Linked DNA regions of Homo sapiens: region 2 is linked to region 1. Evidence: promoter capture Hi-C in human tissues and cell types (Jung and others, 2019). All regions are on one chromosome and are shown on one strand. The core of a region is centred on a gene start or on the middle of the fragment in contact, and the rest is flanking DNA. Distances in the headings are between cores, read along the strand shown. Region 1 holds the start of PHF21B (PHD finger protein 21B). Region 2 has its middle 44 kb from the start of PHF21B.

Region 1 (4,857 bases), core at 694-3,193:
AGGAACCTTGCTTCTCCCTGCTTGGGGCAAAACCAAAGGAATCACGACCACTTCAAACACGGGCTAGTTTTGCATCCACATTAACCAGTGTTGGCTTATGGTGTGACTGTGGTCCCAGCTACTTGGGAGGCTGAGGTGGGAGGATTGCTTGAGCAGGTGAGGTGGAGGCAGTGGTGAGCTATGATTTCACCACTGCACATTAGCCTGCACGACAGAATGAGACTCACACAGTAAGTAACTATGCAAAAAACAGAGGGGCATGTATATGATCCTTACCGTAACCCACATATTTAACCTACGTAATTAAATCAACAGAGGTTATTCAGGTCATCTTCGGCCCACACAGATTCAGGCAGATGCTGGCCGGAGGGTAGTGGCTCCTCCTGTTGAGTCTTTTCTGTTTGTTTGTTTGTTTTTTCTGAGACAGAGTCTTGCTCTGTTGCCCAGACTGGAGTGCTGTGGTGCAATCTCGGCTCACTGCAACCTCTGCCTCCTGGGTTGAAGCAACTCTCCTGCCTCAGCCTCCCGAGTAGCTGGGATTACAGGCTTGCGCCACCATGCCTAATTTTTTGTATTTTTAGTCGAGACCATGTTGGGCAGGCTGGTCTCGAACTCCTGACCTCGTGATCTGCCCACTTCGGCCTCCCAAAGTACTGGGATTACAGGTGTGAGCCACCGCCCCCGGCCGGCCTCCTATGGAGTCTTAAAGCGCTGTTTGCAAGTTTCTGTTAACTAATTTGGGTTAAAGTAAGGGTCATCTACATGCCCCTCTGCTTTTTGCATAGTTACTCATATCCTAAGTCTCACTCTGTCGTGCTCTGAAGGCGAGGTGCTGGGTTGTGGGATGAGGGGCCATCTGTGTTTGGGGGTCCCAAACACGTAATTTATTACAAATTCCCTAACAGAGAGCAGAACAACACTGGGGTCCTCACTTGAAAAAAAAAAAAAAAAGAAAAGAAAGAAAAGGGGGAATTCCAATAACTTCTGCCAACAAAAGCAATGTGTGACCTGTTGGCATATGTTGAAAGGGACATTTGCTGATGGTGCTTGCTTGGGTATTTTTTGTGCTGCCGGAGAGGAATCTGAAGTTAAAACGACTTAACAGCTTAAACGTTTACTTTGACATATGATTGCACCCTTTCTCCCCAGCGTGTTTCAAACGTGCCAGTTTGCTGCCAACAGGGCACCCGGCACTCCGACCTGAATGAAGATGGCAGCCCCGAGGTGGTGACAGTGACTCTGGGACATTAACCTCCTGGCTGCGCGGCTGGGGGTTCTGAAACGCGACCTCCGCAGCTGTAATTATAATTGTTTTAGGTCGCATTGACCGGGCCTGTTTACGACTCTTAACAAGAGTCTTAAAATGTCCAGTGACATCTGTTGAGAGTTTAATCGTGTAAAAAAAAATCATTAAAGGAAGAGCCAAGAGATCAATTTTCTTGCTGTTTAAACAACACGGAGGCCATCAGGCGGCGGGGGAATGTGGCGACGCGACTAATTTAATCCCCCAAGTCGCGGCGCTGGTATGGACAGGAGGGGACGGAAGAATTTAAATAAAATATCAGAGGGAGGCGGAGGAGGGGGGAAAGGAGGGAGCCGAGGACCAGGGTGAGGAGAAATGGAAACACGGACTCGCAGCCTCCCAGCGGAAAGTGTCCTGATCCCGGCGTTACACGGCGCAGGGGGTGGGGGCGCCGCGTTCCCCGGGTTGGCCCGGGGACGGAGAGGATGACTCCGCAGTCGTCCTCTCCGAGCGCCCGGCCCGAGCAGTCCCCGGAGCCGGCGACCGTGCGTCCCCGTCCACCGCCACTTTTGTTCTCCGCTCGGGGTGCCGGGCCGCGGCGGGGCGGCAGTGCGCAGGCGCGGGCGGGGCGGGGGCGGGGCGCGGCGGGCTGAGGGTCCCGGCACCGCCCCCCGCCGCCCCGGCCCGCTCCATCCGGGCACTGCCGAATTAGCATCGTGCCGAGGCACAACTTTGCCGAGGCCCAACGAGATCCAGGCGCGCGCGCCGGAGGAAATATAGTCCCTGCCCGCGGGAGGCTCGCGCGGGAGGAGGCGGCGGCGGCGGCGGCTGGGCGGGCGCGCGCGGGGCTGCGCGGGGCTCCCGGCGCCGGGGGGGCCATGCTCCGGGCCGCGCCGGCAGCCCGGGGACCCGGCGCAACTTGCCGGGCAGCCTGAGGAGTTGGGGCAGCCGAGGGCTCGGCGCCGCGGCGCCCGGAAGCCTGTCTTCCCCTTCGCCAGCCCCCTTCCCTTTCGGCCGTGGGGGAGGGGGCTCGTGTCCCCCCCAACCCAGCCCGGAGGCCGCGTCCGCCCGCGCCCGCTCTGGCCCCCGCGGAGCCGCGCAACTTCCCGGGAGCCCGGGCCAAAGTGAGCGCAAAGTGCTGCCCAAGTTGCCGGGATGGAGCTGCAGAGCCGGCCCGAGGCGCTCGCCGTGGAACTCGCGCGCCACCAGGTAGGTGGCCGGGGGCCGGGCCCGGGGCCGGGGAGTGTGTTGCGGGGTGAGGGGGTCGGGGGACCCGAGCCCAGCATCCTCTCTTCCGGGTCTCTGGGTCTTCCAGGCTGGAGCCTGCCCGGGGGCGGGGGGCGAGGGAGTGAGCACACGCGCGGACCCCCTTCTGGGCTCCCCTCCGCCTGCCCCTGGCGCTGTCCTGCACAGTTTGCGGGATCGAGGACGCGTGGGACCCGAGCCTGGAGTCTTCTCTTAAGCGATGTAGGGTCTGCATGACTGGGAGGGTGCCTGGAGGGGGCCCCTTCGTGAGCCGGTCCCGGGGAGGGGAGTGCGAATAGGCCCCCTTCCGGCCTCCCCTCGGGCCCCCGCGCCCCGGGCGAACCTGCCCGGTGTGCAGAAGTAGTTTTGGCGATCGCTGCTGGCGAGCGGCGGCGTGGCGGCCGGAGCCTGAGCGGGGCTCGGCGTGCGCGTGTGTGTGTTGGGGAGATTAGGACGCGACTTGAATATTTATGAGCTTTGCTCGACACGGACTCGCCGTGTTTACTTGGCTCTTTGTTCCTCCCCCCTCCCCCGGCACACACTCACACTCACACTCACTCGCACACGCACCCCGGCCTGCAAACTTGCACGGCTCGGGGCGCGCCGCCGGGTGGCCTCGGCCCCCGCCCCGCCCCGCGAGCTGCCCCGATGAGGCGGCAGCCACAGGTAAGCGGCCCCGCGCGGCACTGCCCGGCCGCCGCGCGTGCAGGACGCGGCCCGGGAAACTTGGGGTGCGCTGCGGCCGGCCCCGCCCGTGGGGCTCCGGGCGGGGGGTGCCGCGGCCCGCGGTGCTGGGGTGCACCTGACCCCGGGTGGCCTGCCTGAGCCCGCTCCTCCGTGTTTCCGCAGAACGGCGACCTCAAGAAGCAGCTCCACGAAAGGCAGCCGCGGATCGCCGCGCTCAGCGACAAACAAGTAAGCGATGGGATCGCGGCCCCCCCTGGGATGGGGCGGGAGGGTGGCTGGGCACTTTGGCGGCGCCCTAAAAAGTGCCAGCCTGGGCGACGCACGCTCAGACTCCCAGAGGGGTCTGTCTCCAGTTCTCAAAGTTCCCCACCCCTCCCCTTTCCTGGAAAGAAAGAGCCGGGTTCTCGGAGGCGGCAGGGAGAGCCGGGCCCTGCGGGGGCCGAAGAGAGGAGCTCACTTAAAAGGCAGCGCGCGGCCCGGCGTCCATTTTGAGGTGGTGGACATGTTTTTGGAACGTGGCGATTTCTCCCGGCTCGGAGTCCCCCGCTTTGCGCTGAGGCGGCCATGGGGGCGGAGGGGGGCGGCCGTGGGGGCCTGGACACCAAACTCGTTGGAAGCGATTTCTGGGTTCCGTGGCAAACCTCGTTTTGAAATCGTTCCTCGAGGCTCCCTCCCCCCCACCACCTTCCACTTCCCTAGCTTCACTTTTTATTCTTGGAACCTGACGCCAGCTCCCGGGGAACAAAAGAAACGCGCCCCCGGGACTCCCCAGTTCTGCTCCAACTTTGGGCTCCGGGCGTTAGGTGTAGTTGGGGACACCTGAGAAGCTCCCACGCGTCGGAGGCGCGACCGCTCCCCCCCCTCCGGGCCCCCTCCGGGGAGGAAAAGTTGTCCATTGTGACTTAGTTGCGCTGAGCTCAGCGCTCGGGGTTTCAGCACCACGAACAGATGCCGCCGCCAGAGCCCGGCCGGCCGCGCGCCCCCGCCCCCTGGCTCCCGCCCCTCCTCCGCTGCCCCTCCCCCGCCGCGCCCCCTCCCCGCACTCGCACACCCGCCCCTTCCCCGCGCTCGCACACCCGCCCCTTCCCCGCGCAGCCCCGAGCCGAGAACTTTGAGCGGCGCAGCCAATGGCGTGCTGGGGGCACCGCTGTGGCGGGCACGGGGGCGGCGGCGCCCCTCCCTCCCTCCGCTGCCCCCTCCCTCCCTCCTTCGCGCCCCGCCCCCGCCCGCGCCGCGCCCCCGGCCATCGATCGCGTTTCCTTCGGAATGCCGGCCGCAGCCGCCAGCGCCAAACTTGGACAGCTCCGGGCCCGCCCCCGCGCGCCCCCGCCCGGGCCTGCCCCCGCGCTCCCACCCCAGCCCGGGCCGCCGGATCGGACGCCCCCTCCCCCGGGGGATTTTCTGGCGTAGGGGAGAGACGTGGACGAGGTTGGGGCGGCTGCCGGTGACCCTGGCGAGAGAGAATTCGGAGGCCGGGCGTTCGTGTCGAGTCTTTAAAGTTAAAAAGTGATGGGAGGGGGCGTGCGCGAGTGGCGGGTTTTGGGGGGGGCCGGGCTTGCTGAAAGGAAGATGGCAGTGCCGCGGCCCGCGCCTGGTCTGGGCCGCCGGGCTGGACCGAAGGCTTGGGACAAATGCGCTAACCCTTTTCAGTTGGTGCCGCGGCCCCCCCGCCCCCGGCCGCG
Region 2 (4,857 bases), core at 1,419-3,918, 44 kb before region 1:
TCACCTGTGTGGATGTGTGTGTGCCCAGCATGCAGAGGTGCCGGGTTCAAGTCAATACGTGGATTAAGCCAGGCTCTTGGCTGGGTGACGACTTTGTATGTTGTTACATTTGTAGGATGCTGGTGTGGTGGCCCTCCTGGCTCACATGCTTATGGTGGTCCCCTGAGGGTGAGTCCCCTGAGGCCCGGTGAGCGTGTTCTGAGACCTGCCTCCCTGGCCATGGCTGGGTGGTCCTCGTGGTGGGCATCCACCCATGTGACTTCACTTCTCTCCAGGTCTGTGAGGATCAACAATGTGTAGTTACTGGTCACCATTGTCCTTTTCCTTCCCAATTCCTGGGAGGATACAGGAGCATGTTACTGAGCAAGTGAGGTGTGACTTGGGCCAGACAGGGCAGATGGCGGTTGGATTGGCAGGAGAAGGGAAGAGGAGTGAGCACTGGTGGGGTGTTCGGGAAGAGGTTGGGAGGCCTGGTGAGTTAGGCAGGAGGGGGACATTGGGGAAAGCTGGGGGCGTGGTAAGGAGCCAGGAGCTTGGAGAGGTGCTGGAAGCTCAGCTCAGGGCCCAAACGGGTGGGCTCAGCCTGGGGTGGCTGAGATCTCCTTTCGAGGCCAGCAGCGTCTCAGTCCTCGTTGGACTGAGGCCTTTGCAGCTCCAGCAACTTCGGGGCATGGACGATGACAGGGTTTGTATTCCAAAGAGGATCCGGACATCCTCCCACTTCTTCGTGCATCCGCAAAGCCCCGTCAGCTGTCTTCTCCTTGCCTTTTACATTGAACTCGCAACGTCCTTTACCCTCCCTTCGCTCCTCTGTCGGGAACTGGCAAAGCAGAGACCCTGGGGTGTTTTTATTTTTCCTGCAAGCTGGGAGGACTAATCTGTGCTATGTACTTTAGTGCACGATCTTCATAAAACCCAGAACTGTGTTATTTAAACCAGTTTCATTTCCTTTTAAACATGTCAAAGTCGCTGGTCTTAACTCAAGGACTCCAGCATCTAAGGTTTGATGTGGCAAAAGGGCGGTAGGGGAGAGAGGAGAAGCAAATGCCGTTTGGAGAGACTGCGGCACAAAGGAGATGCTAGCATGGGGGGTGGGGGGCTTGGGGGAGGTTTAGGGTTCCAGTCAGGTTGCCAAAACGTTTCTGATTTTCCTCTTAGAACCCTTTGACAACACCCTCCCGGAGCACAGCAGCACGGTGAGCTGTGCAGACTCCAAAGTTCCCTGGGATTTGCTCAGGAAGCCCCCACTCCCGCTCAGTAAATGTGACCTGGGTTGTGGTAATACTCACTGCATGAGGGTCCAGGTTAGAGTCTTGGGTCATCACAACCAGGTGTATAGAGTGATCTGGACTTGTTGAATCAGAATCCCTAGATTTGGAATGCAGAGACATCGTGGCTCTTTTCTGCTTAAGAACATGTTCCTGACCATTCAGGTCCAGCAGAGGAATGTGATCATGATTCGCTGCAGCCTCAGTCTCCCCGGTGTTGCCCAAATGTTCTTCCTATCTCGGACTCCCGAGTACCTGGGACTATTTGGACCTTCTTCCTCTGTTTTTTTTTTTGTTTGTTTTGTTTTTTTTTTTTTTGAGACGGAGTCTCACTCTGTCTCCCAGGATGGAGTGCAGTGGCGCGATCTTGGCTCACTGCAAGCTCCGCCTCCTGGGTTCACGCCATTCTCCTCCCTCAGCCTCCCGAGTAGCTGGGACTACAGGCACCCACCACCACGCCCGGCTAATTTTTTGTATTTTTATTAGAGACGGGGTTTCACCGTGTTAGCCAGGATGGTCTCGATTTCCTGACCTCATGATCCACCTGCCTCAGCCTCCCAAAGTGCTGGGATTACAGGCGTGAGCCACCGCGCCCGGCTTCCTCTGTTTTTTTTTTTTTCTAAGCCCAATTTCTGTTTGTTTCCACAGTACTAAGAGTAATTTGCTGCTGTTTTTCTTTATTCCTTTCTCTGTTCTCCTAATGCTCCTTCCTTCACACTGAAGTTGACCTTTTGGTTAATTTTTTGCCACGGTCCAGCCTGCGTGTGACGAACGGAAAAAGCAAGAGAAAGAGAGAGAGAAAGAAAGAAAGATCTTAATTTTGATATTAATTACCTTTAACCTGTTCACTCCCACTTATTTATGTATTGGTCTTTAATATTGTTTATTATATATGTAAAAAAAGAACCAGCTCCTTAGCGGAGCGCTTCTGTGTGGGAAGTCGTGGGACAGCTACTGTTCTGGGCTCTCCTCTCCCAGCTTCACTCTGTGCCCCCTTCTCTGTCTGGATGTGTCGTGTGTGTATGCCTGGCCTACAGCAGCTTCCAGCACTCCTAGGATGACCCAGGCAGCTCCTTTCCCTCCAGCCCCTCCCACCCCCTCCCAGTCCGCTGTCCCAAACGTGTTATAATGAAATACCTGAGACTGGGTAATTTATAAAGAAAAAGAGATTTATTGGACTCACAGTTCCACATGGCTGGGGAGGCCTCACAATCATGGCAGAAGGCAAAGGAGGAGCAAAGGCATATCTTACATGGTGGCAGGCAAGAGAATGTGTGCAGGGGAACTGCCCTTTATAAAACCATCAGATCTCATGAGACTTATTCACTATCATGAGAACAGCATTGGAAAACCTGCCCCCATGATTTAATTACCTCCCATTGGGTCCCTCCCATGACCTGTGGGAGCTATAATTCAAGATGAGATACGGGTGGGGACACAGCCAAACCATATCACAGCCCAACTTCTGGGTCTGTATGTCCTTTTGCTCAGAACTCCTCTTCCCTTGTATTTCAAATCTCAATCTCCCCTGAGGAGACCCAGATGATGTCAGGGGCCCTCAATATAGTCCCACAGTGCTAAGGACCTCTCCTTGGTGACATTTGTAAAGGCTGTATTTAAAAGCATGCATTTTCTTGAGTCCCTTCTATTCAGCCAAGGTGTCCTTTGCCTCAGGGGCAATTAGCATTGCTTCAGGAGGAACATCAAGAGAAAAGACTTGGGGCTTGGTTTTTGCATGCAAAGTAGGATTTGTTAGGCCTAGGGCAGAGTTGCTCAGCCTGGACACTGTGGACATTTGAGGTAAGATCCTGTAGGGCATCAGCAGCATCCTTGGCCTCTACCCACATTCAGATAGAGGGGCCACTCCTCGGCCTCCAAGTCCAGATGATTAAAAATGTCTCCAGACACCACCCAATGCCCCCTGGCAGGCAGAATCATCCCAGCTGAGAGCCCCTGATCTGGAGTAAGAACATAGTCTTGAAAGCCAACTTTTTATTTTTATGTTTTGGGCAAGAGAAGGATCTTCTAAAGCTCCCCTTTGTGAAAGGAAAATAAAAACTCAGGACCCCAATTCACTTGGCCAAAAGAAAGAAATTAGGCTGCAAGCTGAGTCATGCAAGAAGCTACCTTTCCTTTTGTTCCTAAGCAGAGAGCTACAGAGAAAAGGTTAAGTATCTCTCCAGGTAGCTAATCCAGTGTTCACCTTATCTTATGTAAAGTGCTGATTTACTGAGTGCCAGGCGAATACATGATTGACTACTCCCCTACCTGCTGCTTTTCCCTTGTAACATGTGGATTCAGTAACTACACCCTCCCTCTTTCTCCTCCAGTTCACTTTTCCCCTTTAAATATGGAAGCCCTCAAAATCATCTTTGGAGAAAGGCACAGACTTCTCTCTGGGGCATGTCCTTAATCTTGGCAAAATAAATTTCTAAATTAATTGAGACCCGTCTCAGATACTTTCTGGTTTACACCTTTATATGCCAAGAATACAGCCTCAGGAGGTCTTGAAGACATGTGCCCAAGGTGGTCAGAGGACAGTTTGGTTTTATACATTCTAGGGAGACAGAAGACATCAATCAACACGTGTGAGAGGAACATTGGTTCAGTCTGGAAAGGCAGGACAACTCGATGCAATGGTGGGAGGGAAGCAGGGAGGGGCTTAGGTAGATAAGAGACAAAAGGTTGCATTCTTTTGAGTTTCTGATGAGCCTCTCCAAAGGAGGCAATCAGATATGCATTTATCTCAGTGAGCAGAGGGGTGACTTTGAATAGAATGGGAGGCAGGTTGACCCTAAGCAGTTCCCAGCTCAACTTTTCCCTTTAGCTTAGTGATCTGGGGCCCCGAGATTTATTTTCCTTTCACAAGCCTGATGGACTGGGCCATGCCGCTTTTCAAGAAGCCATTGGAAGCAAGTATAGAAGCTTCGTCTTCTGTCGGAGAGAAGGGAGGCAGAAGTGTTCTGCCACAGCAGGGAGAGATGAGGGATGAGGCCAGGGTGGTGAGGATGGAATGAGGGTCCCTGAGAAGGGACCCAGCAATGCAGTCCCCTCCCTGGGAGGCCTGGAGGGCACCCCGAAGAGATGGACCTGTGAGTTGCTGCTTGAAGAGGGACCCGCAGCTGACCAAACAGAACAGAAAGACCGAAGAGTATTAGAGGCAGAGAGTGGAATGAACAGAGGCCACAACACAAGGAATCATTGTCCTATTTTCAGAGATCTCTGAGTTAGAGCCTGGGTCTTGGGGGAGGTGACAGAGAGCTGGGGCGGGCCTTACGGGGGGTGGAATCCCACACCCGTCATCCATGCCCGATGCGGCAGGCCCTGTGCCCAGGGCTCGGGTCCTAGGCTGGTCTCTGCTCCGTGCCGCTTCTGTTCTTAAGGGTGGAAAGAAGATGTGAGTGGATAAGCTTGGATGTGCTGCGGGCTCTAAGGTGATGGCCAAAGGACACACAGAGCTCTCCTGCAGGAGGAAAGGCAGAGCCTGGCTTGCAGAAGTGCAGGGTGACCTCCTGAGGAGGTTGAAGGAGGCTGGGCAAGTGCTCAGAAATCTGAAGGTGGTCCCATGAGAAATGGGGTGGACTGACGT

What was found. Contacts are between HindIII fragments. The study calls those that stand out against the background at their distance.
Region 2: a fragment that was not itself captured here is called in contact with the fragment with the promoter of PHF21B in region 1 in 2 of the 25 tissues and cell types used here (IMR-90 fibroblasts and pancreas).

The regions. Positions count from the first base shown.
Region 1 is chr22:45,007,091-45,011,947 of GRCh38, reverse strand. It overlaps PHF21B (PHD finger protein 21B), which reads left to right and starts at 1,943. Exons shown (of 13, transcript NM_138415.5): 1 at 1,943-2,452; 2 at 3,338-3,403. The coding sequence starts at 2,399. RefSeq lists an enhancer at 2,963-3,564. The HindIII fragment of the contact is 18,572 bases long and covers 1-4,857 here.
Region 2 is chr22:45,051,891-45,056,747 of GRCh38, reverse strand. No RefSeq gene overlaps it. Among named protein-coding and RNA genes, the nearest start is that of PHF21B, 44 kb to the right of the region's middle. RefSeq lists enhancers at 2,404-3,207, 3,208-4,012, 4,013-4,816. The HindIII fragment of the contact is 6,724 bases long and covers 1-4,857 here.